Regions from separate parts of the Homo sapiens genome. Here all the other regions are linked to region 4. Evidence: promoter capture Hi-C in 16 types of primary human blood cells and fetal thymus (Javierre and others, 2016). All regions are on one chromosome and are shown on one strand. Each heading gives the region's core, a stretch centred on a gene start or on the middle of the fragment in contact. The rest is flanking DNA. Distances are from core to core; before and after follow the strand shown.

Region 1 (3,848 bases), core at 246-2,745, 600 kb after region 4:
ATCCCAGTCCATGGCTTATCTTTTGATATTCTTTTGAAGGGCAGAGGCTTTAAATTTGGATAAATTTCAGTTTATCAGGTTTTTTAATCTTTGTGCTTTTGGTGTCCTAAGAAATCTGCCTAGCACAAGGTTACAGCTTTTCTCCTGTCTTCTTCTAGAAGTTTGTTGTTTCAACTCTTACATTTAGGTTTGTGACCCATTTTGAGTTAATTGTTGTCTATGGTGTGAGGTAAGGGTTTGTGTTCTTACATATGGATATCCATTTGTCCCAGAACCATTTGTTTAAAAGACTGCCCTTTCCTCCATTGAATTACTGGGTACAGGTTGCGTTTCCCTAATCCAAAATCTGCAATCCAAAATGCTTCAAAATCATGGGCCAGGTGCAGTGTCATCCCTGTAATCACACTTGTAATCTCAGCACTTCAAGAGGCCAAGGCAGGTAGATCCCTTGAGCCTAGGAGTTCAAGACCAGCCTGGGCAACATGGTGAAACCACATCTCTCTCTCTCTCTCTCTCTCTCTCTCTCTACATATATATATACATATATATATATATATATATATACACATATACATATATATATATATACACACACAAACACACACACACACACTCTATACACACACACACACACACACACACACATCAGCTGGCCAGGCATGGTGGTTCACGCCTGTAATCCCAGCACTTTGGGAGGGCGTGGCGGGTGGATCACGAGGTCAGGAGCTCGAGATCAGGCTGGCCAATATGGTGAAATCTCATCTCTACTAAAAATACAAAAATTAGCCAGGCGTGGTGGCAGATGCCTGTAATCCCAGCTACTTGGGAGGCTAAGGCAGGAGAATTGCTTGAACCTAGGAGGCGGAAGTTACAGTGAGTCAAGACAGCACCATTGCACTCCAAACTGGGCTACAGAGTGAGACTCTGACTCAAAAAAAATTTTTTAAAAAGGCCAGGTGTGGTGGCACACATCTATACTCCCAGCTACTTGGGAGGCTGAAGTGGGAGGATTGCTTGAACCCAGGAGGCGGAGGTTACAGTGAGCCAAGATCATGCCACCACACTCCAGCCTGGGCAACAGAGTGAGACCTATCTCAAAAAAAAAAAAAAAAAGCTTCAAAATCTGAAATTTTTTTAGTGCCGACCTGATCCTCAAAAGAAATGTTCATTGGAGTATATTGGATTTCAAATTTGTGGATAAGAGATATTCAACCAGTGAGTATAATGCAAATATTCCAAAAATCCAAAAAAAAAGATCTGAAATCCAAAACATCTCTGGTCCCATGTATTTCAGATAAGGGATACTCAACCTATACCTTTGTTGGAAATAAGTTGACCATATATTTGTGGGTCTGTATCTGGACTCTTCTATCAAGTTATCAAGTGAGCTACGTGTCTATCCTTATGTCAGTATCTCTCTGTCTAATTACTGTAGCTTATGGTAAGCCTGGAAACTTTGTTCTTTTTCAAAACTGTTTTGGCTATTCTAGGTCATTTCCATTTACATATACATTTTAAAATCAGTTTATTAATTTACAATAGTTGGCAGCTGGGATTTTTATTGGAATTGCATTAATCTATAGATCAATTTGGGGAGAATTTATATCTTAAGAATATTGAGTTTTCCAGTCCTTGAAACTCTCACCATTTGTTTTTCTTTAATTTTTCTTTTACTTTCCATAGCAAGAGTGGATAGATCTTACACATATTCAGTTAAATTTAGCCTTAAATACTTCATTTTTAAAATGCTGTTGCAAATGTTTTGATAACTTTGAGTTCTTGTTCATTGCTAACATATAGAAATAGAATTGGTTTTTTTCGCTCTGTTACCCAGGCTGGAGTGCAGTGATGCGATCTTGGCTCACTGCAAGCTTCACCTCCCAGGTTCACACCATTCACCTGCCTCAGCCTCCCGAGTAGCTGGGACTACAGGTGCCTGCCACCATGCCCAGCTAATTTTTCTTGTATTTTTAGTAGAGACGGGGTTTCACCATGTTAGCCAGGATGGTCTCGATCTCCTGACCTTGTTATCCACCCGTCTCGGCCTCCGAAAGTGCTGGGATTACAGGCGTGAGCCACCGCGCCTGGCTGCAGTTGGTTTTTTATAGTGACCTTGTGTCCCGTTACCTTGCTAAACCTACTATTTCTAGTAGCTTTTTGGCTGGACTTCTTAGGATTTTCTACGTAGGTCATTATGTCATCTACAAAGAAAAAGTGTTTTACTTCTTCCTTTTCAATCTGTATGCCTTTTCTTTCTTTTTTTTCCCCTGTCCTTTTGCACTGGCTAGGCAATCCAGTACAATGTTGAGTAGAAGTAGTGAGAACAGACATCTTTGATTGTTCCCAATATTAGGGAGGAAGCATTCAGTCTTTCTGGTTGAGTATGATGTTAGCTGTAGATTTTTCATAAATGCTCTTTATCAAGAAGATCAAGTTACACCTTATTTCTAAATTTGCTGAACTTTTATCATGAATGAATGTAGAATTTTGTCATATGCTTTTTCAGCTCCTGTTGATATAATCATAAGGTTTTTAATATTACTGAATTACACTGATTTTTTAAAATGTTAAACCAATCTTGCATTCCTGGGATAAATTCTACTTGGTCATGATGCATTATCAGATATTTTATATATATATATACACACACATATATTTATTTAATTTGCTTTAAAAAGTTAAGGTTTTTACATCTATATTCACAAAGGGTATTGATCTTGTTTTCTTGCAATGTCATTGTCTGGTTTTGGTATCATGGTGACACTAGCATTATAGTGTTTCCTTGGCTCTGCTATTTTCTTAAAGAATTTGTGTAGAATTAGGATTACTTCTCACTTAAATGTTTGCAAGGATTATCCAGCGAAGCCATCTAGTCTAGAGTTTTCTTTGTTGGGAACCCCTTATTTTTAATATAGGAAGGACTTATCTTCTATTCCCTATCAACACAGTGTGTAGGCCAGGCACAGTGGCTCGTACCTGTAATCCCAGCACTTTGGGAGGCCAAGGCGGGAGGATCCCTTGAGCCCAGGAGTTTGAGACCATGGGAAGACCCTGGCTATTTATTTGTTTTATTTGTTTGTTTGGACAGGATCTCACTCTTTCGCCCAGGCTGGAGTGCAGTGACATGATCACGGCTCACTGCGGGCTTGACATCCCTGGGCTCAGGTGATCCTCCTGCCTCAGCCTCCCAGGTAGCTAGGACTACAAGCACACACCACAGTGCCCAGCTAATTTTTATGTTTTTTGTAGAGACAGGGCTTCACGACGTTGCCCAGGCTGGTCTTGCTCCCAGTGTGCTGGGATTACAGACGTGAGCCGCCGTGCCTGGCCAACCTCATCTCTACAAAATATAAAAAGATTAGCTGGGTGTGGTGGTGCACACCTGTGGTCCCAGCTACTCAGGAGGCTGAGGTGGAAGGATTGCTTGAGTCTGGGAGACAAAGGCATCAGTGAGCTATGATTATACTACTGCGCTCCATCCTGGGTGACAGAGCAAGACCGTATCTCAAAAGAAAGAAAGAAAAAAGCAACACATGTTGTAGCCCTGAGAATGAAGGGTAATCAAGTTGTGAGAATCGTTGCTGCCTAAATAATGCTTCCAGCACACACAGTTCCACCAAGCCCTGTGTTTCCCTGGCCTTGGCTGTAGTGGAAGGGAATTTAAGTGATTTTAAGAGTGTTTTCAGGTGTGGGTACAATATTTTTTAAACTTTCTTTCTTTTTTTTTTTTTTTTTGAGACAGTCTCACTCTGTCGCCCAGGCGAGAGTGCAGTGGCACGGTCTTGGCTCACTGCAACCTCCACCTCCCGGGTTCAAGCAGTTCTCTGCCTCAGCCTCCCGAGTAGCTG
Region 2 (3,690 bases), core at 1,104-3,603, 560 kb after region 4:
CTTCATTCACCTGCTTGACAGTTGATGCTGGCTTTCAGCTGGGGGCATAATGAGGTTGTTGGCCAGAACATGTAAACATGGCCTCTACGTGTGACTTGGGCTTCCTCATAATATGGTAGCTGGGTTTCAAGATCCAGCTTCCCGTGAGAAGGAGACACAGAAGCCATGTTGGCTTTTATGAGTTAGCTTCGGAAGTAACACGGCATCACTTCTGACTCATTCTATTGATTTAAGCAGGAAGGTCCACCCTAGTACCCCACCCCTTACTAGAAGATTGTCATTGGCACAGTGTAAAACCAGGATGTGTGATATGATATAGGTTAATACAGTTATCTTTGGAAAATAACATCTGCTACACTGTACCTGCACATAGCTGGCACTTAGTAAATGCTTATGAAATAAATAAATGAAAGAACTCTGGTCTTTAAGGAAACTGGTCTCAGAAACTTAATGGAAGAAAGAAAAACATTAAAAGCTTAATGTTCTGGAGCCAGGCGCGGTGGCTAACGCCTGTAATCCCAGCACTTTGGGAGGCCAAGGTGGGCAGATCATGAGGTCAGGAGTTCAAGACCAGCCTGGCCAACATGGTGAAACCCCGTCTCTACTAAAAATACAAAAATTAGCTGGGCATGGTGGCACGTGCCTGTAAGCCCAGCTACTCAGGAGGCTGAGGCAGGAGAATTGCTTGAACCAGGACCTGGGAGGTGGAGGTTGCAGTGAGCCAAGATCAGGCGGCTGCACTCCAGCCTGGGCTACAGGGAGACTCTGTCTCAAAAAAAAAAAGCTTAATGTTCTTATAGATGAACTCTAATCACAGCAATAATGTAAATTCATGCTTATGATACTCACTCTGCTCCAAACACAAACCACTGATATGTAAATACTAATGGACACAATGAAAAGATACTTACAAGCTCTAAAACAAGATAAATAACTCCACAGATCAGAAATGGAACAGCCTCACAGAGCATTCAGCCCTTGATATGCTGGCTGTACACTAGCCCCAGAAACAGGCAGAAGTGGCAGGAAGTTCACCCGCTGTGGGTCATGGATACTAAAAGTGTGCCATTTATAGCGGACTGGAGCCGAGCCCACAGATGGAAACCATACATGCTAGGCTGTGGCTCCCCTGCTAACAGTGAAAGGGGGAGGAACCTGCTACCCCTGCTGCCTGAAGCATATTTAAGGCCCCCAAACTGAGGAGTTAGCAGGACAGAGACACAGCCTCTGACCAAGAAGTAAACCAAGCCAACCACTGACTTAGTGACTGGACTGGCAGTAGCCCCAGAAACAGCAGAGCAAGAACTCCCTATTGCCAATATAATACCTGGTTTTGGTTTAGAGACTCTTGTGTACCTGGGGGAAGCTACTGTAAAACCACTGAGGGCTGGGCGTGGTGGCTCACGCCTGTAATCCCAGCACTTTGGGAGGCCAAGGCAGGTGGATCACGAGGTCAGGAGATCGAGACCATCCTGGTCAACATGGTGAAAACCCATCTCTACTAAAAATACAAAAATTAGCCAGGTGTGGTGGCATGCACCTGTAGTCCCAGCTACTCAGGAGGCTGAAGCAGGAGAATCGTGTGAACCTGGGAGGCACAGGTTGCAGTGAGCCGAGATCTCCCCACTGCACTTCAGCCTGGGTGACAGAGCAAGACTCTTGTCTCAAAAAAAAAAAAAAAAAAAAAACACTGAAAAGCAGGGATCAACCAGGTGGGAACTGATGTGTGACAGCTTTCCAACTCACAGTAAGTAAAGTGAGCCTGCAAATGAAAAACATAATGCTACAAAATTCACCCAGCACAATCAACAACCTACAGATGAATTTGCCCAAGATGAAATTCATATAATAAAATTCAGCCAGGCGTGGTGGCTCATACCTGTAATCCCAGTGCTTTGGGAGGCCAAAGCAGTTGAATCACATGAACCCAGGAGTTTGAGACCAGCCTGCGGAACATAATGAGACTTCATCCTGTCTCTACAAAAATAAAAGATTAGCTGTGTGTGGTGGTGCATGCCTGGAGTCCCAGTATTTGGGAGGCTGAGGCAAAAGGATTGCTTGAGCTTAAGAGTTTGAGGCTGTAGTGAGCTATGATCATGCCACAGCACTCCAGCTGGAGTAATAGAGCAAGATACTATCTCTAAATAAATAAACAATGCAAAAAATACTTTAAATAGTATAATTAAGATTAACATTCATTATGAAAGAAGAAAAAATTTTGTGAAAGAAAAACAGAATCAAAGCAACAACATGTGAATATGAAAAACAACCAATTAGAAGTCTTGAAAACCTAAAAAGTCATGGAAATGTTTTTAAATCACTCAGTAGAAAAATAAACATTAGAATGGAATGAAAAATTAGTATATTGAAAGAGAAATTGGGAGAAAAATATGGATCTTGTTGAAAGCCCCCTGATTTTACAGATTGTAATTGGTGTGGGGAAGGTCACAGACTGAATGAGTAGGAGAGGCCTCCTGAATGCCAGGGCATTGCGTTTTCTGCTACCTGTCATTACCTCTCCTAATCTGCTTCCATCTTCTCTGGCAAAAACAAACAAAAGAAATAAGTAGTCTGCAAACATGGAAAGCAAAAACTGGAAATTTGAGAAGAGGCATTATGGCCCAAGAGAGGCTTGGAAGAATTATGTCCTTAGGTGCCAAACTTACAGGTGCAATTTATGCTAAAATTCTTGGCAGTGGCCCTTTCCTTTCTCCTTTCCTGCCTCCCCTCCAACCTTCCTTTTTCTTTTTTTTTTGGTAGACTTCTCTTTGTTGCCCCAACTCTTTGTTAAAATTATTATATGTGCAGAAAAGCTGAATGAACACTCTACATTTCACCTAAACATTTGCTAACATTTTGCTGTATTTGCTTTTCCTCTTCCCTGTATGTATTTAGTTTTGTTTTTGTTGAAAAGTAAGTGGAAAAAAAAGTATTTTGTTGTTGAGAATAAGTTGCAGACAACATGATGCCTCACCCCAAATACTTCGGCATACATCTCCTAAGAGGAAACACAATACCATTATCACACCTAGGAAGATTGTCAGTAATTCCATGCTATCATCTAATATCCAAGCCACATTCAAATTTCCCCAGTTGTCCCCAGAATGTCTTTCATTGATGGTTTTTGTCATCACTGTTATTGCTTTATTTATTTTCCTGTACCAGTATCTATCAAGGTTCCCATTGCATTGGTTGTTATAAAAAAGAAGGGAGACATTTTCTAGAAAAACGCATCTGGAAGTGGATTCAGGTTACTTATTTTCACCACTGTTTCTGTTGACTTTTGTGTATTCTAGGCTGAGATTTTAACTGGCCTCACGGTGGGCAGCGCTGCAGATGCTGGGGAGGCTGCATTAGTGCTCTTGAAAAGGGGCTGCCAGGTGGTAATCATTACCTTAGGGGCTGAAGGATGTGTGGTGCTGTCACAGACAGAACCTGAGCCAAAGCACATTCCCACAGAGAAAGTCAAGGCTGTGGATACCACGGTAAGTTTTAAAATTTAAGAATCATGTTTAGCCTTTGAAAATTGTTACTTAGTAACTAATTAGATGCTGTACCTGAATTTTTGGATAATGAAACAAAGCCCTAGTAAGTGATATGGTAAAAGAGAAGAACAACCAGGCAGGGGAACTGTATTTTAATCCCTCTCTAACTCTCTGTGGGACTTTATGCAAGCAGCTTGACCTCTCT
Region 3 (3,657 bases), core at 389-2,888, 540 kb after region 4:
ATTGAAGTAATGCTCACCTGCAGGACAGAAAAATAGAAGTTCAGTTCAGAAGTATAGTTCAGAGGTAGCAAGACTAAAGGCCTACAGGAGCCAAGCAGGTAACAGAAATTGCAGTAGGCTAGGTGAAGCCAAGAGTCTATGAGCACTTTAAGGCACTCACCTCTCAGTTCCAGGTGGTTTGCCTTGCAGGAATGTGGACCCAGTGTTACCAGAACCTCTGAATTTTCAGAACCCCCTGGACATCTGTCTGTTTTTGTGAAGTCTTCTAATATTTAAGTATTGAGAACTGATAAAAATAGCAGGGCATTTACACCAAAACCTGCACACAGATATTTATAGCAGCTTTATTCATAATTTCCCAAACTTGGAAGACATCCTTTAGTAGATAAATGGATAAATAAACTCTGGTACATCGAGACAATGGAATATCATTCAGCCCTAAAAAGAAATTAGCTATCAAGGCATAAAAAGACACAGAGGAACTTTAGTTGCATATTACTAAGTAAAAGAAGTCAATCTGAAAAGGCTGCATACTGTGTAATTACAACTGTATGATATTCTGGAAAAGGCAAAACTATGGAGACAAAAGATTAGTGGTTGCCAGAGGCTAGTGGGGAGAGAAGGATGAATATACAAAGCATAGAGGATTTTTAGGGTAGTGAAACTATTGTGTATAGTACTATAATGGTGGGTATATGACATTTTACATTTGTTAAACCCTATAGAATATCCGACACCAAGGGTGAACCCTAATGTAAACTATGGAGTTTGAGTGATAATGATATGTCATGTAGGTTTATCAGTTGTAACAAAGTACCACTTAGTTGCAGGATGTTAATAGTGGGGGATACTAGTTGCCGGAGGAGACAGAGAGTATATGGGAACTCTGTACTTTCTACTCTCTTAGGCTGAGAACCTAAAACTGTTTTTAAAATAAAGTCTAGTTTTTAGAAAACAGTAGTAGGGCAAACAAAACATATCTAGCAGTCAGATTGAACTTTCAGCCCACCAATTTACAACCTCTGCTGTAGATTCAACTGTAGAGTTCAAGCCAAGGTCCAGCCAAGGTAGCAGTCAGACAAATGGTTAGCATTAGAGGGGTATGGGAGAAGATAACAAGGGTGTCCTGACTAGCACAGTGATTGCAGCACCACGGAGGCCAGAAACGGACAGTAGGGAGATGTCGATAAGATGCCAGCATTAGTATCAAAGGCCTTGCAATCATAGTTTTCTGGTTTTGAGCCACAGACCTAAAGGCCTGGCCCCTGCAAATGGCTGGCCAGGCAGAGAAGAGTGCCTGTTCTGAAAGAGCTAGAGGGCTAACCAGATGATTAGGATACACACTCATGCTGACAAAAACAGGGGAGATCCAGTTACCAAAGTGGACCACAAAGCAAGAATGTGGTCACAGGATCCAGTCACAGACAAAGCTACTTAAATTATAGTTCAGTGGTTCAGGGTTACACTAGGCACTAGGCTAACTAGCTTTTTCTTTTCTTTTTTTTCTTTTTTTCTTTTTCTTTTTTTTTTTTTTTTTTTTTTTTTTTGAGACAGAGTCTTGCTCTGTCGCCCAGGCTGGAGTGCAGTGGCACAATCTCAGCTTACTGCAACCTCCGCCTCCTGGGTTTAAGCAGTTCTACCTCAGCCTCTCAAGTAACTGGGACTACAGGCGTGCGCCACCACACCCGGCTGATTTTTGTATTTTCAGTAGAGATGGGGTTTTACCATGTTGACCAGGCTGGCCTCGAACTCCTGACCTCAGGTGATCCATCCGCCTTGACCTCCCAAAGTGTTGGGATTACAGGCATGAGCCACCGCACCCAGCCTGAAGCTAGTCAGGACTTTGTTAATAACAGACAATAGACACCCAATTCAAAATAGCTTAAGCAAAAAAAAATAAAATAAAATTTTTAAAAAGAATGTATTGCCTCATGTAACTGAAAAGCCCAGTGGTAGAGCTGGCTTCAGATGACTTAGGGTTCCATTAGGCTATTAGGAGTCTGTGTCTGTTTGTGTCTGTCACCCTCCTGCTTTCTGTTATGTTTCTCTCTTTTCTTTCTAGCTGTCTCCACATGGTGAGCCCCAGTGGCTGCAGGCTTACATTCTCTTATAGCCAGCAATCTTACTGGGAAGAAAACTTGTCTTCCCTGGTAGTTTCAGTAAAAGTCCCAGGACTGAGTCTTATTGGACTAGTTTAGGTCACATGCTCATTCATGAACCCATCACTGTGACTAGGATGGTGGAACACACTTTTTTTTTTTTTTTTTTGAGACAGTCTCACTCTGTCACCCAGACTATAGTGCAGTGGTGTGACCTCGGCTCACTGCAACCTCCACCTCCGGGTTCAAGCAATTCTCCTGCTTCAGCCTCCCGAGTAGCTGGGACTACAAGGAACATGCTTTTTAATCAGGCCTGGGTCCCTTGGCCAACCTAATCTTGTTGTCTATAGAATGGGACAGAAATAGGTGTCCAAAGGAAAAACTGAAATACCTTTAACAGAATAGATGCTAGGATGCAAAAACACAATTCCATTATACCAAGTTACCCAAGTTAGCTAGGGCCTTTAAAATTTCCTTCTCTTTGCCTCTATGTGTCAGTGTCAAGGGAGAAGATAAAAAGATTCTGGAACATCAGGCAAGTCATGACAAAGATACCCATATTTACAGTGAAGTACAAACAGCTGAGATTCTTCATAAATATTGAGGATTGATGATGGTAGATAACTCTATCTCAGTGGGAATTATCACATGAACAGCTCAAAATGAGAATGACTTAATGAGTGATGTTCATTAAATACTTCACATTTTAAGTAGGATATAAGTGAAACATTATATAACAATTCTTTGGGCTGCAATCAAGTCTAGCATCTTATATTAAGAAGATTAATTAGTTAATGTTTATAAAGTACTGTGCAGATATGCCCTTTTAAAATGCTAAGTATTCTAAAAACTACATTGTAGCATTTTACTAACTCTAAAAGATCTAATATTCATTATTTCTTTGGTACAGGTTGGCAAAGATTCTTTTGGCAATGATTATATAGAAAACTTAAAACAGAATGATATTTCTACAGGTAAAATTCCCACCTTTTTTAAAGTTAGTGTTTATAGCTTTTTTCTGTGATTTTGTTATGAGAAAAATTGAATCTAGAGGAGGATTATTAGACCTTCCCCTGGTGGCCAGAGAATTTCTATGCACAGCTTTGTCCATTCTTGCTTAAATGTCCTTGGGTTGATTCTTCCCTGTACATTCCTCCAGATGGGAATAAAATGATAGGAGGTTACAAACCTTCATCTCATGAACATGTGACAAATGACAAGGAGAAAAAGGTGCTGCATTCACAAAAGATGTTTTAAGAATGTTATAGCTGGCAACAATCATTAGAAGCCATACAGGCTGAAACCATTATTTCACAGAAGAGAAAACCGAAGGTCAGAGATGTTCTGTGATTTCTGCAAGAGCACACAGTTGGTTGGAGCTAGAGCCAGGACTAGAATGAAGATCTTCTGATTCCAGTTCAGGGCTCTTTGCTGCTACCAAAGGCTGCCTGGTCAACATTTCTGTTTATATGCCAGACCTTGGTTCTTGGTGAAATAACAAGCTTATGAGAATGAAAATAATCAAACAAGTTCATTTTATAGATTTGACCTTTACTTT
Region 4 (4,117 bases), core at 1,031-3,530:
GACTGCACCCTCAATGAACAGACTAGGCTGTCTCTACTGTGGGTGCTTATAGGAGCACCATGGGAGGCAGAGGGAAGACAGAAAAGCCATTTTGGGGACTCACCAGGTATAGGGAATCACTTTGGAACAAGGGACCCCCCCATCAGATCCAAAAGAGAGCCACGTTCCAAAATTCTTTCCAGCTGAGTCCACCCCTCCCTGGAAGCCCACCCTAGCCCCTTCTAGAGGCCAAGGCCACCGCCTTATGGAGCATGAGCATCCCTTGCTGCAGCCAACTATGCTAGACTCCACAGATGCTGACCACGGTGGGCTTCATGTTGTATTGGGCCTGCGTTAACCCAGCTCTCTCTCGAGACAGAGCGGGTGGGGGAGCTGCAGCAGAGGGCAGACACGCCATCAGCACCCCCCCGCCAACAGCACCTTCCTGGTATTTATAAACACAGAGATCACACGCACAATCCCTCCAGTGCAAACCAGTCCGGCTGCTTTAGAAACAAGTTGTTTTCTGCTTCCAGAACCACCCAGGAGCCTGCGTGATGTCTCTTCCCCCACCCGACCCCCTCTTCCCTCTGCCGGTCTCCTTGCTCCAGGTACCCCCAGACCCTCAAGGTGCTCCTTCGTTCCTGGGGGGCAGTGCAGCCTCCTGTCCGTGATCCTTACAGAAGACGGGTCGGCGGGGGGGCAGGCAGGCAGGCAGGGGGCACACAGGCGGCATGAGCCAACCAAGGCTGGCTTCTTCCTTCCTGACCTTCGCACCTGATTCCCAGAGCGGCAGCCCTCGCCCTCGCTCCAGATTACTTGAAGGAGTCCAACCATGTTTCTGGGTCCCCAACCCCTTTCAGAAAGGAGTTATGACTGATGGAGAACGGGGAGGAGAGAGAGAGGGCTTTCCTGAAGGAATAGGGTCCCAGGATGTCGAGAGGTGCCAGTGGGTGCAAAGATTTTCTTGTCTGTCCACCACCCAGAGAGAAGACGCGGGGCAGGGGTGGGGGGGGGGGGGCAGACACTGGGGAGGGGGAGTAGTTCTTGGAAGGAGGTAACAGGCTCCTGGTAGGGGGCCTACAATTCCAGGAGTCTATCTGGGTAAAATATAACGTGAGAGGAAAAGGGCATGTTGTCTCTTCAAGCCCACTCTCCAATCCCCTAGTTTAAAAGGGGGTGGGGGGGAAGGGGAGGACGAAAATCCAGAACTTACAACGGTGGCCCGTAGGTATTTTCTCGCCAAGAAAAAGAAAAGAAAGCAAAAGAGGCAGTGGCGGCGAGAAGAGGGCAGGGGTCCGCCCGCGCCGCCAGGTGCACCGGGGCCCGCACCTACCTGCTGGCCGCCGCCGCCGCTGGAGTAGGACTCGGCGTGCGCAGGAGAGCCGCTGCTGCCCCGGGACGAGGTGTCAAAGTTCCCGGGATAATCCTGGTACATGATCCGCGGTGGGGGCCGGAGAGGAAACAGGGTGTTTTTCTTCCCCCGCCCTCGCCGCGGCCGCGCACCGGCTGCTGCGCGCTCGTTCGTCCGCCGGCCGCGCCGCGGGCTCTGGGCTTCGCTCCTGGGTTTCTCCCCCACCGCGGAGGGCGAGGACAGGGAGGCGGCGACACCTCAGGAACAGCGTCCCCCGAGCGTCCCTTACAGCACTTCTTTCCGGCTCTGCGAGCGCCGCGGGACCAGTTGTCCACCCGATCCCTCCCTCTAAAAAGTCGGCGCGTCTCTCGGTCCCTCCCCTGCGCGCGCCCTCCCGCCCCCGCGCGCAGCCGGAGCTCAGCGGGGACCCACGGCCCAATCAAAAATTGGAAATTAAAAAAAAGATTAGGAGCCCAGCGAGCCTGGCCTGCCAGCCCTGGGGACCCCCGATTTCAGACAGGGCCAAAAAGGCGGAAAGAAAAGCTGTCCGCTGGGAGAAACTTCTGTTTCTTCCTTTTAGAAAAGGAGCCGGAGAATAAACTTCCCGTGGCCGACTCGCCGCCCGAGTTTCGGGGCGGCTCGGATACTTGACTAGGAGAAGGCGGCGTGCGCCCGTCCCGCGGCCCCGAGCGCGCCAGGGGGACAGCGGCTCGTGGGGCTCAAGTAGAGCTGGCGCTGAGAGGGACGCGGCCCCGCTCCCCGCTCCGGCGCCCAGACCCGCACCCCTTCCCCGGAGCCCGCTCCCGGACGGGCCCGCCTCGCCCGGCCGCGCCTCTCCCTCTCTCTCTCTCTCTCTCTCCCTCTTTCTGTCCCCGCCGAGCGCCGCTCGTTCGCTCGCTCGCTGGTTCGCTCGGAGCCCTAGCGCTCTGCCCGAGATGAGTCACTACAATGGCACGAGTTCAACTCACACTCTTTATTCTCCAGCCCTGTACCATGTGGATTCACTCACGTCAACCCCAGACTCCACCTTGCAGGGAGGAGCGCACGAGGAGGCGGGGGGAGGAGGCCGCGGAGGAGGAAGAGGCGCGGGAGGGGAGGAGGCGGGCGCAGCTCTCCCCTCCCAGCCCCGGCTCCCGGCCGCGCTGACGCCAACCGCGCACCCCGCGCGAGGAAGCCAGGCGGTGGCACGGGCGGGAGCGGGCGCCACGCACGGTTCGGAGGCGCCGAGGCAGCCCCGGCCCTCCCCAGTCCCCCGCTCACCCCCCGGGCCCAGCGCCCTTGGTCTGTTCCATTGGCGCACGTTGCCAAAGATGGTCATTTGCGTTAGAGGACGCGAGTGCGGGTTTCCTCGCTTTCGGGTGACGTGGAGGGAGAGGGATTCCCTCGCCCGCTCCCGAGTGCGCTGCGGCCTCTCCCCCGCCCTGGGAAGGGGCTCGGGGCGGGGCCCCGAGAGCGGCCGCGCGGGTCTCGCCTCCGGATTTTAGAAAATAATCACAGCCCTGACGGCGAGACGGGCGGTTCGGTGCGGCGCCACCGGGAGGCCGGGAGCCGGGCGCGCAGAGCCGCTCGCAGGGAGGGCGCGGCTGCGCGCGGTCGTAGGCGCCCTCCGCGGCGCCGCCGAGTGCAGCGGGCGCCCCGGGCGCGCAGGGTGCCCGCGCCGCCCTGCGGCCGGGTGTTGGCGGGGCACGGCGCCGGGCGGGGCTGGCCTGCCTATTTTTCCCTCCGTGGCGGTCTGCCTACCGGTTCCCTTTTTGTTTTTTGTTTTTCATGTTTTCGGTCCTACAGTTAATTCGTTAGGAGTAGCCTTGAAGATGAAATTAACCAGTCAAGACATTCCGGCCGCCCTATACGCCGGGCAATTAGGACGCATCTAATAAGAGTAATCGGGCGTTTATAAGCAAACTCCAGACTGTTACGAATTAAAAAAAAAAAAAAAAAGCCAGCGAGAGGGTGTGCCCCAACGTTGTCGTCTTCAGCTGTTTTGGAGCGAAGTTCAGGGCGCGGGTTGCCGGACATTTGGGTCCTCCTCCCTCGCTGGGCGGGGCTGGGAGGGGCGCGGCGCAGGGTACAGAGCACAGACCTTAGAGCAGGAACGCCCGGCTACGCTATTTACGAGCTGTGAGATCTTGGACGAATTCCTTAACCTCTCTGGGCCTCAGTTTCCTCCTATAAAGTGAAGGAGTTTGGAGACATGACCTTAGGCCCTTCTCTGCTCTGGAGCTCCAATCCTTCCGCTGAGATGATGGTGTGTGTGAATGGAGAAGTACTGTAGCGGAAGTCAGGGAACTTAGGTTTTGGTCCAGGGTCTGTGTTAGCCTCAGTTTACCCAATTCTTAAGTAGCGCCAGCCATCTGTACCCCACAGGGTCCTTATGAGGACCCAATGTTAAGAGGTGTTGAGAGTCCATTGCTGACAACTCGCTGTGCACCGTCACACAACTTCTGTCCTCAGTTTCCTTATCTGCAAAGTGGGGGTGTTGGTAGCAGAGAAAAATAGAGCCGGGAACGCGAAGCTTTCCTGGGGCTCTATATAAAGCGCTGGCATTTCCGGGACGGCTGGCGGCATCTGGCCGCCCCAAGGGCCCCAAGATACGGTAATCCCAAACAATACTCGGGGTCATTGTTTACAGCTATAAAACACATTCTGTCCTGAACGCTATCCCCAAGGACGCGCGCGCGTGCGCGACGAGGCGAGGCCAGCCAGACTCCTCGCACCTCCGCTGCTGCCCGCTGGACAGAGTCCCCAACTCCGCAGGCCCAGGAGAGGGGTGTGGGGCAGGCGGAC
Region 5 (3,829 bases), core at 1,066-3,565, 620 kb after region 4:
TGGTTAAGCCTTACTCTCACTCTTCTGAGTCCCTTCGGCATTAAGAACCCCACCTTTCCTTAGTTATCCCAATCTCTAGGAGGGCAGGACCCTTTGCATCTCAAACTTCTGTATCCAAACACCTAGCACAGTTCCTGACATAGAAGCCAAATAACAGATTGAGAGCATTCACATCACGTGCCTAATATCACAGAACTACCAGGTGGCAGAGTAAGAATTTAAACCTAGATTTTATCTGACTCCAAAGACTCATGCCTTTCCCAGTAGACATTGGGACCTACCAGTTTGCAATCATTAATTTTTCATGGCTCTGTAAGGAACCTGGGCTCCTCTAACACCAAGGACCTCGTCAGTAACCTCATTTCGCAACTAATAATCAGGACTTTTGGATTTTTTTCCTAATCCGTGATTTGTATCTACATATGAAGTCTTACAGATGTGAAATAAGATTTAATCGCATGGCTCACGCCTGTAATCCCAGCCCTTTGGGAGGCTGAGGCAGGCAGATCACTTGAGGTCACGAGTTTGAGACCAGCCTGGCCAACGTCGCGGAATCCCGCCTGTACTAAAAATACAAAAATTAGCTGAACCCGGGAGGCGGAGGTTGCAGTGAGCCGAGATAGCGCCACTGCACTCCAGCCTGGGCGACAAAGTGAGACTCCGTCTCAAAAAAAAAAAAAAAAAAAAGTAATAAAACTGTTTTAAAGAAAATTCAGCTCTCTGTGCCATCACAAAGAAGATGAGGAGGAAAAAAATCAGCTCTCCATACAATACAATTCAATTTTTTAAATTAAGACCGTCCTTCTCCTTAGTACCTATAATACTTTTTTTCCTTCTAATCATTCTTGATATTTATCTTCCCATAACCGGACTCCAGCTACTGAGTACCTTCCAGGTGCCGAAATCCTTCCTTACCTTGCATTGGCAAAAAAGAGCTTCAGATGTTCAAGAGGATAAGGTTTCTTATATTTCCTTTAGAGGATTTATAAGAAAACACAAGACTGGAAGCCAAGGAACATGATTTCTAGTCCTTGTTCTGTCCCTTAGAAAGTCACTTTAACTTTAGCCCAGCCAAATAGCAGTTCTTAAACTCCATGCCCCTGCCCCCAACTCTATTCTCCTTACTCTTCTTTATGTTTTCCTACAGCACTTATTGCCATTAATAGTATTACTTGTGTACTTGTTGATTTCCCTATTGTCTTTGGCTACCAGAATGCTGGGCAACAGCAAAACCCTGTCTCTAAAAAAATTTTTTTAATTAAAAAAAAGAACTTCAGCTTATTCCCTCACTGCTGTATCCCTGGTTCCTACAACAATGCCTGCTACATCTATTAAATATCTATTGAATGAATGAATCTGAGGTGAGAGGCACCATACAAATGTCAATATTTATGTTTAAATAGCAAAAAAAAAAAAACTAACTTTAAGTATTGTCAATAGTTTCAGGATCCAGGAGAATGTATAAGCTTGCTTTTGAAAAGAGCCAGGTGCAGTGGGTCACTCCTGCAATCCCAGTATTTTGGGAGGCCGACGAGGGTAGATCACCTGAGGTCAGGAGTTTGAGACCAGCCTGGCCAACATGGCGAAACCCCATCTCTACTAAAAAATAACACAACTGGCCGGGCGCGGTGGCTCACACCTGTAATCCCAGCACTTTGGGAGGCCGAGGCAGGTGAATCACGAGGTCAGGAAATTGAGACCATCCTGGCTAACATGGTGAAACCCCATCTCTACTAAAAATACAAAAAAAAAAAAAAAAAAAAATTAGCCGGGTGTGGTGGCGGGTGCCTGTAGTCCCAGCTACTCGGGAGGCTGAGGCAGGAGAATGGCGTGAACCTGGGAGGTGTAGCCTGCAGTGAGCCAAGATCGCACCACTGCACTCCAGGCTGGGCGACTGAGCAAGACTCCGTCTCAAAAATAACTTAAAAAAAAAAATTAGCCAGATGTGGGCGCCTGTAATTCCAGCTACTCAGGATGCAGAGGCAGGAGAATTGCTTGAACCTGGGAGGCAGAGGTTGCATTGAGCCAAGGTAGCAGCACTGCACCCCAGCGTGGGCAACAGAGGGAGTCTCCATGTCAAGAGAGGAGAGGGGAGAGGGGAGAGGAAGAAAAGAGATAGCATATGAACTATTTCTTGAAATTCTTGAAGGAGTAGGCTGGAGGCAGTGACTCTCTAGCCTCAGGAGTTCATGTTGCATCCACCTGTTATTTATACCTAATATAGCTGGCAGTTGGTAAGTGTTAATTAAAATGTTTATTATAATACAGATGTAATTCATGATTTGGGGCTTTTTTCCTTGAATTTACATAATGAGCCCTCTATGCCTTATTAGAGGAAAGTGCATAACAATTAGAGCATCCTGGCAGCCCAAATGGAAAAAGTGTAGTCCTTAGAGAAGGGGCACCCTCTTTGGGAGGTGGGGTGCTACAGGGAGGAGAAGATCAAGCTGTTTAACCTAGATTCTCAGCCCGGAGAAGCAGATAGAGGAAGAGAACATCTGCTCTGGGTCAGGGCTCCATACACAGCATCTGTATTGGGTTGGTAGACACTGTATTCCCAGCACTTAGTGATGGGATTCAAACCCGAGGATCTAGAAGCTGTACCCCTCCTCCTCTGCTGTGCTGGCAGACCCCTGGCTGCCCATCATCCAGCCCATTGTCACACCTACATCTTGCTTGACTTGTGATTGGGAAGTACAGCCACTGTTCTTGCCTACAGAATCAGTGATCCTGGCTCCCTGACCTGTCCCAGGGGCCTGGGAACATGGGCAGTGGAAGGAGAAAGACGCTACAGGAGAAAGCTGGGGCTTCCTGAAAAGAGCTGGTACCTTTACAAGCTCAGACACCACAGGCAGATGGGACAGCTTCAAAATCAGGCCCTCAGACTCAATGGCTTAGCATTATAGCAAAGACTACCTGAGGGAGCAAGACGAGTGAAGCTGGGGCCACCAACTGGGTTCAACCTGTGTGTAGTGGGTGTCCTCCAGTTGGCATTCAATGGCCTCTATCATCTGGCCTCACCCTCCTAATTCAGTCCCATCTCTCTTCACTGAGGCTGCTGGGTGCCAATCTCTTTAGGGATGAAGCCTTTCCTCACCCTGCATTCCCCATTCCACCCCACATCTTCCCTCCACAGATTCCTCTCAGAGCATCCATTAAGCTTCCCTGCATGCCTTGGATCACAGGTCTGCCTCCTATTATGGGACCTAAGTCCCTCAAGGACCAGGTCTTCTGAATCTCCCCCACTCCCCCAAGCAGGAGCACTAACGGAAGGTTGCTATCCCACTCACGTTTTTGACAAATACAGACCGAACCTTCTCTACTAAGGGACTGTGCCTTGAGTTATTTTCTCTCCCTTCAGTCCCACTTCCTCCCAAGTCAACCTGAGACAGGCAGAGTGGAAGGAACTGGGGGAAGGCACCTAAAAAAAAGGCATCTAAAAAATGCACATTGAGCATCCTCTTGGGGCTAGAGTGTGGGGTGAAGTGAGGGAGGTGAGCTAGAAAGGATGGCTGGGGCTAGGCAATGAAAGAACCAGTGTTCTAGCTGGGAGTCAGGCTTAGTTCTGTGGGCAGCAGGAAGGCTCAAGAGTTAAGTAAGATTTCTGCAGTGGCAGCACCTGAAATCAGCCATTTTCCCACTTAGTTGGGAGAGTGGCAGTGACTTTCCCATCCCACCCAAAGGCCCCCCAAAGGTCCCCTTGAGAACAATAGACACTTTTCTTGATCTGCATGCTCATGCCTATTTATTTAGTTAACACATGTATTTGGTGTTTCCTTAACAATTGGCAAGTTCTTCTTCCTTATGTTTTGTCACTTAGCCTTTTTTG
Region 6 (3,690 bases), core at 1,191-3,690, 710 kb after region 4:
CTGGGAACTCTGTTAAGTCAGTCTCCAAAGATTCACTTTTCTGGATGTGGTCCATGACAAAGGGATTCATTTTTACTCCCAGACAAGTGAAATACTTACTTTGCCTGGACCAGGTGTTTTCTTTTTCTTCAATTCACCTCTGCTTTTCTCATATTCATTCTTTGATGCTAATTTAAGAAAAAAAAACTGGCAATAGCTATTTTCAGTATAAGTAAAATAAAAAGGCAAAATTCTTCCTAAAAGAACATTACAATTATTGAAGAAAAGATGCTCATGACAATGCAATTCTCAACAATTCCTTCTACTGCTGTAAAAACTATATCAAGAGAAAATTTTTCCTGGATGAATAACCCTAGTTTTTAAATCCTAAGGCTGTTCTACAAGTTTGAATATAACCACATTATGCGAACAAGTTTAAAAAAAATGAGGCTGATTTTACTAGTCCACAGTTTAACCATTACAGGTAAAACCAGAGTAAAGCAGTCCTTTTAACAATTTCTTTTAAGATAGTTTTGGAATTACTCCCATAATAGGTACATATTTGACTTTGGGAGATGTAAAATTGTGGAGAGCTTTGCACAGCCAGAGGGAAGTATCAAGGCATTAGGTGCTTTGTGGGGGAGGGAGAGGGAACCCCAGAAGGTGGAAGAGGAGTAAAAGAAAGGCAAATGGGATGGCACCAAATACAAACCTCTCTTATGTTCCAACTTTGTCCAGGGGCCTAGTGGCAACATAACTAAAGGACCATTCTCTGTGCTGCCTTCAGGTCAGCTGCCAGCCCCTCCCTTATGAAACCAGTCAGCCACCTGTGTGCAGAGCAGCAATGAAGGCTGCCGTACTACTTGCCTGAGGGTCCTGCGCACAATGAAGTGGTTTTGCTACAGTCTTGATAATCTTTATTCTGTTCTTCCTCGCTAAGTTGAGACATGTTTTCTATAAAAAGCAATATCAAATCATATTGTCATGATTTAATTCATGGTGGAAAGCCAAACAAACAAAAACAAAAACAAGAGAAAGAGAAGCTAAGTACATAATCATCCAGTTTTATTATCATCAGCTTCAACTAATCTTAAGGTTTTAAATAAATATGTTTCAAATGTATTACAGAAAACTGCCAATTTTCCACTTAAAACACTAGCCAACATTGAGGTAAAACTTTTTAGCAATACTTACTAAAAGCCTCAAAAATGTACATACTCCTTGGCCTAGAAATTCTACTCCCAGAACATATTTTTTTAAAAATCAGAGATGACCACCAAAATTTATTATTATTTTAGAAACAGGGTTTTTCTCTGTTGCCCAAGCTGGAGTGCAGTGGGGCAATCATAGCTCACTGCTGCCTTGAATTCCTGGGCTACAGAGATCCTCCTGCCTCAGCCTGCAGAGTAGCTAGGACTACAGGCATGTACCACCATGCCTGGCCAATATTTTTTTTTTTTAATTTTTTGTAGAGATAGAGTTTCACTATCTTGTCCAGGCTGGTTTCAAACTCCTGGGCTCAAGTCATTCTCCTACTTCGGCCTCCCAAAATGTTGGGATTACAGGTGTGAGTCACCCAGCCTAGCCCCAAAATTTGTTATATATATGTTTGTAATAGCAAAAATTAAGAAATAACCTACATGTTCAACAATTGAGAGTTGACTAAATACATTATGGCATATGCATGTGATGAACCACTATGCTCCTTCTCTGAAACCACATTTTAAAAAGAATAGTCTAAGGCATAGGAAAAAAAAAACTAGGTTATAAAATAGCAATATATAAACTGGGCATGGTGGCTTACGCCTATAATCCCAGCACTTTGGGAGGCTGAGGTGAGAGGATTGCTTGAGGCCAGGAGTTTGAGACCAGCTTGAGCAACATAGGGAGACCCTATGACTCTATTTTCTCTACAAGCATGTGCCTTGGGAGGTCAAGGCTTCAGAGAGCCAAGATCACACCACAGTACTCCAACCTGGGTAACAAAGTAAGACTCTGTCTCAATAAAAGTAAATATTAAAGTAAAAATAAAAACAAACCACAGGAAAAAAGGCCTGGGGTAATCCCTCATCACTGCAAATTTACTAATTATTTAATTTTGTTTTGTTTTGTTTTTGAAACAGTCTCACTCTATCACCCAGGCTGGAGAGCAGTGGCATGATCTCAATTCACTGCAACTTCTGTCTCCCGGGTTCAAGCAATTCTCCTGCCTGCTCAGAGCCCTCCTGAGTACCTGTGATTACAAGCATGCACCATCACGCCCAACTAATTTTTTCTGTATTTTTAGTAGAGACGGGGTCTCACCACATTGGCCAGCCTGGTCTCGAACTCCTGACCTCAGGTGATCCATCCGCCTCGGCCTCCCAAAGTGCTGGGATTACAGGCGTGAGCCACTGTGCCTGGCCAAATTTACTAATTATTTAATCTTATAAACCAAGTTTCAAAATCTAAGCTATTTTTACACACACATACTTACTTTGGTCTGTTAAACAAAAAAATTATGATACTTATTGCTCCCCTCCTGCTGACCTGTTTATATCCACCTTCACAATATATGGCCCAAAGACCAAGCTCATGTAAGTACCTTTTTGAAAAGGACAAATGCAGATACAGAATACTTACCTCTCACAGATGAGGAAACAGTAACTTTTCTGTTTCCCAGACAAATGAAGGTGATTCAAGAGAAGGGCTACATACCAGGCCTGGAGTTTTTATGTAGCCAAGCCTGGTTTGTTGTGGAAGTAGACATGCATGCATTCCCATACATTCAGTGCCAGTTTTTATTGTTTCTCCTCATACTCCTTATTTTCTGAGATCTTTATCTTCCTAACCAGTTTGGCCAACCAGCAGGAAAATAACCCCTGCAGTTGACAAGGGATGAAAGGATACTAAAAAGATAAACAATGATCTTTAGGGGTGGGGTTGTGGGGATTTCTTTTTTTTCCTTTGGACTTTTATGTATGATCTATAGTTTCTAAAATGAACATATAACCCTTTGTAATTAGAATATATATATAGAAAATACAGAATTAATTGATGCATATATCTATATGAATATCAATCTATTCCGTCTTTCAACATTTTTCATCAAATATTTGCTGAGGCGGGTGGATATGTGTCAGGTTTTGTGCTAGGTTCCAAACACACAAAAATGAATGAAGCAAGATCCTTCTTGAGAACTTTAGTCCAATGAGTACAATTATGGTTTGGCCTCTGTTTTAGGGATGGAGGAAAAAATGAATAGGGGTTGACTTATCCGGAGACCACCTGATCAGGCCCCATCATGTACCCTGTTCCACTGCCCTCCAACTCACACAGTGGCAGCAGCTCAGGATTATTCCACAGCAGCTATGGTTTCAGATTCCATAGCCTTCAATTTTCTGTAATTCTGGAATGGATTGGAAATAACTGCCCTTAATTTGCAATGAAGACAAATAATGACTGGCGGTCAAAGGAAGAAGACCAAGAAAGTATGTTTCCTTGCTACAGAGTCAGTATATCACATACAAAGTCAAATGCACAGACAAGAACTGGCCTTGCTTTTTAAAACCTATCCACAATCAATGTAACTGCCCACTGAACAACACAGGAAGGAGAAGAAAGATATTACCATGGGTTTGGGTTTCTTTAAAATGTGTGAGATCTGTGGGAGGCCTCATTTCCTGCACTGCTGCTTCTGGCTCTATCTCTGGCTGTGGCCTACTGAGGCTT
Region 7 (3,813 bases), core at 857-3,356, 720 kb after region 4:
TACTTGGGAGGCTGAGGCAGGAGAATCGCTTGAACCCGGGAGGCAGAGGTTGCAGTGAGGTGAGATTGCGCCATTGCACTCTAGCCTGGGCAACAAGAGTGAAACTCCATCTCAAAATAAATAAATAAATACAAAAATTAGTTGTGCAGGGTGGTGCAACCTATAGACCCAGCTACTAGGGAAGCTGAGGCAGGAGGATGGCTTGAACCTGGGAGACGGAAGTTGCAGTGAGCCGAGATCATGCTGCTGCACTCCAGCCTGGGTGACAGAGTGAGACTCCATCTCAAAAATAATAATAATAACAACATCCATGATACATTCTTATGTTAAAAAAGTAAGTCACAAAAGATTGTAATTAATATGACTACATTTGTGTATGAGTGTTTTTTGTTAAAGGATCTAGGTCTCAGCACACATCTATATATGCATAGAAAATGTCTGGGAGAATATAAACAGTGGCTACCTTAGGGTATTGAGAATTTTTCTCTTTTCACTTCAAAAAATTTTGTACAATTTACATTTTCCCCCCATAAAGAAGTTTTATTAGCGTTTGTGTTGAGTTTTCCTTTTTTTAAATCTAGAAAAAAAGGGCTCCTATATACTGACCTGCTTCCTGCCGAAGCAATCCCAAAGTGTCAAGAATCCGACAAGCTTCCAATGAGCACTGGATCATTGCTTCTTTTTTCTTTCCTGAGTGAATGGCCTCAGCCACCAGTTGTTTTCCAGTTGAATCGTCCACAGGTAATCTTCATTGATTTGGTGGGAATTATAGCACAGCATTAAGCTCCAATTCTCAAGAAAACAACTACTATGCTATGATAATAGTCATTTTTTTTTTAGATGGCCTTTCAGTCTTTGAATCCATCTTGTTCTATCTTTCCAATGTTGGATTTAAAATATTTTCTTTCTATTTCTTACCCATCCCACCCCACTCTCCAATAATATAAGGGTTACTAAACGATAAAGGCTCAAATTTAGAAATAGCTTAAACTTAGATGAAAGTTACTCTTTGGGTTGTTATCTATAACCATACATTAAACCTGAAATTGGCCATTTTCCAGAAAAGAACATTAATAAGAAAAGAGCATACCTCACCCTGCAGAGCCAAGTGCTATGTCCCTGTTCATCAAATTCATATTCTAATTCTTCTCCTGTGGGAGAAAGACAGACAAAACAATTTTAATAGAATCCAAAAATTACTAGTTGATACAATGATAAATGAGAACAAACGTTAAATACGAACAAGTTCCTAGCAGTGGCTCACGCCTGTAATCCTAACACTTTGGGAGGCTGAGGCGGGATGACAGCTTGAGTTAAGGAGCGCGAAACCAGTCTGTGCAACATGGCAAAACCCCATCTGTACAAAAAATACAGAAATTAGCCGGGCATGATGGTACGTGACTTTTGTCCCAGCTACTACGGGGGCTAAGGCCGGAGCATAGCTTAAACCCAGGAGGTCAAGGTTGCAGTGAGCCAAGATTGCGCCATTGCACTCCGGCCTGGGCGACAGAGTGAGACCCTGTCTCAAAAAAAGAACAAGTTCTGGCTGGGCGCGGTGGCTCACGCTTGTAATCCCAGCACTTTGGATGGCCGAGATGGGAGGATCACGAGGTCAGGAGATCGAGACCATTCTGGCTAACACAGTGAAACCCCGTCTCTACTAAAAATACAAAAAAAATTAGCCGGGCGTGGTGGCGGGCGCCTGTAGTCCCAGCTACTCGGGAGGCTGACGCAGGAGAATGGCGTGAATCCGGAAGGCGGAGCTTGCAGTGAGGCGAGATCGCACCACTGCACTCCAGCCTGGGCAACAGAGCGAGACTCCGTCTCAAAAAAAAAAAAAGAACAAGTTCCCATACCACACTGAATAATAAATTTCAATGCATTTCACTTCTCATTCCTAGGGATTATTGTCTGATAATAAAATTAGAGTAAGTCTGAGGCAGAGAAAAAAACAAACTCAGATCAAAGTAACCAATTCTCCATACATAGCTCTGTTCACTGTATAGTATGTTTCACTTTTATAAGTTGTAGACTTTAGTGGTTATTTTAACACAGTTGCCTGGTTTTTAGAAGCACAGATATTAAGTGCACAGCTATTTCATATATTATTTATATATACATATAAAATATATACAGATATACATACATATACATAGATATTCTCTCAAAGTATTCCTACCAAAACAATCCTCTATGGAAAAAAAATTTTAAATCATATAATATAAAATCAAAACCTATGTTAGGAATTACAAAAGATCAGGTGAATTCGGAATTAAAAAACTACAGGAAGTTGGCTCAATTTCCCCACCACCAAAGTCCAGGATCTTTTGAGAAGAATGAGATGAGTCAGGAAAAAGTACTTCCTTTTTTTAAGATAAGAAGAAAGACTAACAAGATTTTTATGATTTTTTTCCCCTCTGCCATACTAATGAGGAATAATTTTCAAAATAAACCTAAAGCAACTGACCACAAGAGTAAAAAGTGAACAAGAAGGACAGCAATAAAATTATAGCATATCTTAGTATAAAGCTCAACATGAAGCTCTAGAAAACCACACTGCTCTGGATATGTTTTAGTGGTAGGGTCAGAATCTGTTTACATACCTTCTCGGTCAAAAAAGCCTTGGAGAGCCTTTTTGGGATCCTTTATATAAAAGGCCTCCCTTTCCTGCTGAAACTCTAAGACAATAGGGTTCTCTTCAGCATCATCCTCTACTGCATCTTCTCCTACAGGATATGGAAAAGAAAGAAAAGATAATCAGACATGAGAAGAGACTATTTGAATGATACCCACTATTCTCTCAGGCTGCATAAAGATATAGTTTAGGCTGGGCGCAGTGGCTCATGCCTGTAATCCCAGCACTTTGGGAGGCCAAGGCAGGTGGATCACAAGGTCAGGAGTTCAAGACCAGCTTGGCCAACATGGTGAAACCCCATCTCTACTAAAAATACAAAAAAAATTAGCTGGGCACAGTGGCGGGTGTCTGTAATCCCAGCTACTTGGGAGGCTGAGGCAGGAGAATTGCTTGAACCTGGGAGGAAGAAGTTGTAGTGAGCCAAGATCGCGCTACCTGCACTCCAACCCAAGCAACACAGTGAGACCGTCTCCCAAAAAAAAAAAAATATATATATATATATAGTTTATCTGTGATGAAAAATAATAAATACTTGCAGGGACAGGGGGTGGAACAACCACCACAAAACCACTAGTATGAGCATATTCAGGTTTTCTAAATTGTGTGACAAGTCAAAACTTGTTTTCATGGCACCTTAATTTTTTTTTCTCCATCATTATATTTTAAAAGTAAAATTACCTACCACATTGTGGAAAAAAAATTTGAGCTCCTCAGCCTGGCATTCTTGTTCTCTCACACTCATATCTAACTTTCGTTCCCAATATAATTTCCTAATACTTCTTATATCTGCCAAATAGACTGGTCTACTCACAACTTCCTTAAAATCATCAATTCCTACCCTGAATACCAATCCCAATACTCAGCTTCATAAGGCTTTTCCTTTCCTTCAAGTTCCAGCTCAAAATCCTTATGCTCATAAAGCTTCCCTGTGGAGTGCGATCGCTCACGCCTGTAATCTCTACACTTTGGGAGGCCGGGGGGCGGGGTGGGGGGGGGGGGTGGGGGGTGGATCACAAGGTCAGGAGTTCAAGACCAGCCTGGCCAATATGGTGAAACCCCATCTCTACTAAAATAAAAAAAATTAAGTTTCCCAAAGATCTAAGTCAGTGCTGTCCAACAGAAATATAATGACAGCTGTATGCGTCATCTTAAATTTTCTATTAGCCACATTAAAAAAT

Evidence for each region. Contacts are between HindIII fragments. The CHiCAGO score rates a contact against its expected background, and 5 or more counts as called.
Region 1: a contact is called between a fragment that was not itself captured here and the fragment with the promoter of FOSL2 in region 4, in 5 of 17 cell types (endothelial precursors, M0 macrophages, M1 macrophages and 2 more). The highest score is 10.1, in endothelial precursors.
Region 2: a fragment that was not itself captured here is called in contact with the fragment with the promoter of FOSL2 in region 4 in 4 of 17 cell types (monocytes, M1 macrophages, M2 macrophages and 1 more); the score reaches 8.2 in monocytes.
Region 3: a fragment that was not itself captured here is called in contact with the fragment with the promoter of FOSL2 in region 4 in 1 of 17 cell types (endothelial precursors); the score reaches 5.6 in endothelial precursors.
Region 5: a contact is called between a fragment that was not itself captured here and the fragment with the promoter of FOSL2 in region 4, in 15 of 17 cell types (M2 macrophages, M0 macrophages, activated CD4 T cells and 12 more). The highest score is 16.4, in M2 macrophages.
Region 6: a contact is called between a fragment that was not itself captured here and the fragment with the promoter of FOSL2 in region 4, in 1 of 17 cell types (M1 macrophages). The highest score is 5.4, in M1 macrophages.
Region 7: a fragment that was not itself captured here is called in contact with the fragment with the promoter of FOSL2 in region 4 in 1 of 17 cell types (M0 macrophages); the score reaches 5.4 in M0 macrophages.

What each region holds. Positions count from the first base shown.
Region 1 is chr2:27,786,666-27,790,513 of GRCh38, reverse strand. All of the region lies in intron 7 of RBKS (ribokinase), which reads left to right. Among named protein-coding and RNA genes, the nearest start is that of MRPL33, 17 kb to the right of the region's middle. The HindIII fragment of the contact is 757 bases long and covers 1,117-1,873 here.
Region 2 is chr2:27,827,362-27,831,051 of GRCh38, reverse strand. RBKS (ribokinase) reads left to right here. Exons shown (of 8, transcript NM_022128.3): 7 at 3,297-3,485. Among named protein-coding and RNA genes, the nearest start is that of MRPL33, 57 kb to the right of the region's middle. The HindIII fragment of the contact is 3,134 bases long and covers 787-3,690 here.
Region 3 is chr2:27,847,450-27,851,106 of GRCh38, reverse strand. RBKS (ribokinase) reads left to right here. Exons shown (of 8, transcript NM_022128.3): 3 at 3,010-3,073. Among named protein-coding and RNA genes, the nearest start is that of RBKS, 41 kb to the left of the region's middle. The HindIII fragment of the contact is 3,931 bases long and covers 1-3,603 here.
Region 4 is chr2:28,391,021-28,395,137 of GRCh38, reverse strand. FOSL2 (FOS like 2, AP-1 transcription factor subunit) reads right to left here and starts at 2,280. Exons shown (of 4, transcript NM_005253.4): 1 at 1,316-2,280. The coding sequence starts at 1,417. FOSL2-AS1 (FOSL2 antisense RNA 1) reads left to right here and starts at 466. Exons shown (of 2, transcript NR_103831.1): 1 at 466-590. RefSeq lists enhancers at 162-662, 663-1,163, 1,319-2,250 and silencers at 1,281-1,457, 1,944-3,063. The HindIII fragment of the contact is 9,962 bases long and covers 1-3,847 here.
Region 5 is chr2:27,767,500-27,771,328 of GRCh38, reverse strand. No RefSeq gene overlaps it. Among named protein-coding and RNA genes, the nearest start is that of MRPL33, 2.3 kb to the left of the region's middle. RefSeq lists a silencer at 3,381-3,581. The HindIII fragment of the contact is 1,694 bases long and covers 1,469-3,162 here.
Region 6 is chr2:27,685,177-27,688,866 of GRCh38, reverse strand. It overlaps SLC4A1AP (solute carrier family 4 member 1 adaptor protein), which reads right to left. Exons shown (of 14, transcript NM_018158.3): 10 at 3,590-3,690; 11 at 847-933; 12 at 100-167. Among named protein-coding and RNA genes, the nearest start is that of SLC4A1AP, 23 kb to the right of the region's middle. The HindIII fragment of the contact is 8,277 bases long and covers 1-3,690 here.
Region 7 is chr2:27,666,181-27,669,993 of GRCh38, reverse strand. SLC4A1AP (solute carrier family 4 member 1 adaptor protein) reads right to left here. Exons shown (of 14, transcript NM_018158.3): 3 at 2,604-2,726; 4 at 1,091-1,151; 5 at 607-746. Among named protein-coding and RNA genes, the nearest start is that of SLC4A1AP, 4.2 kb to the right of the region's middle. The HindIII fragment of the contact is 2,905 bases long and covers 654-3,558 here.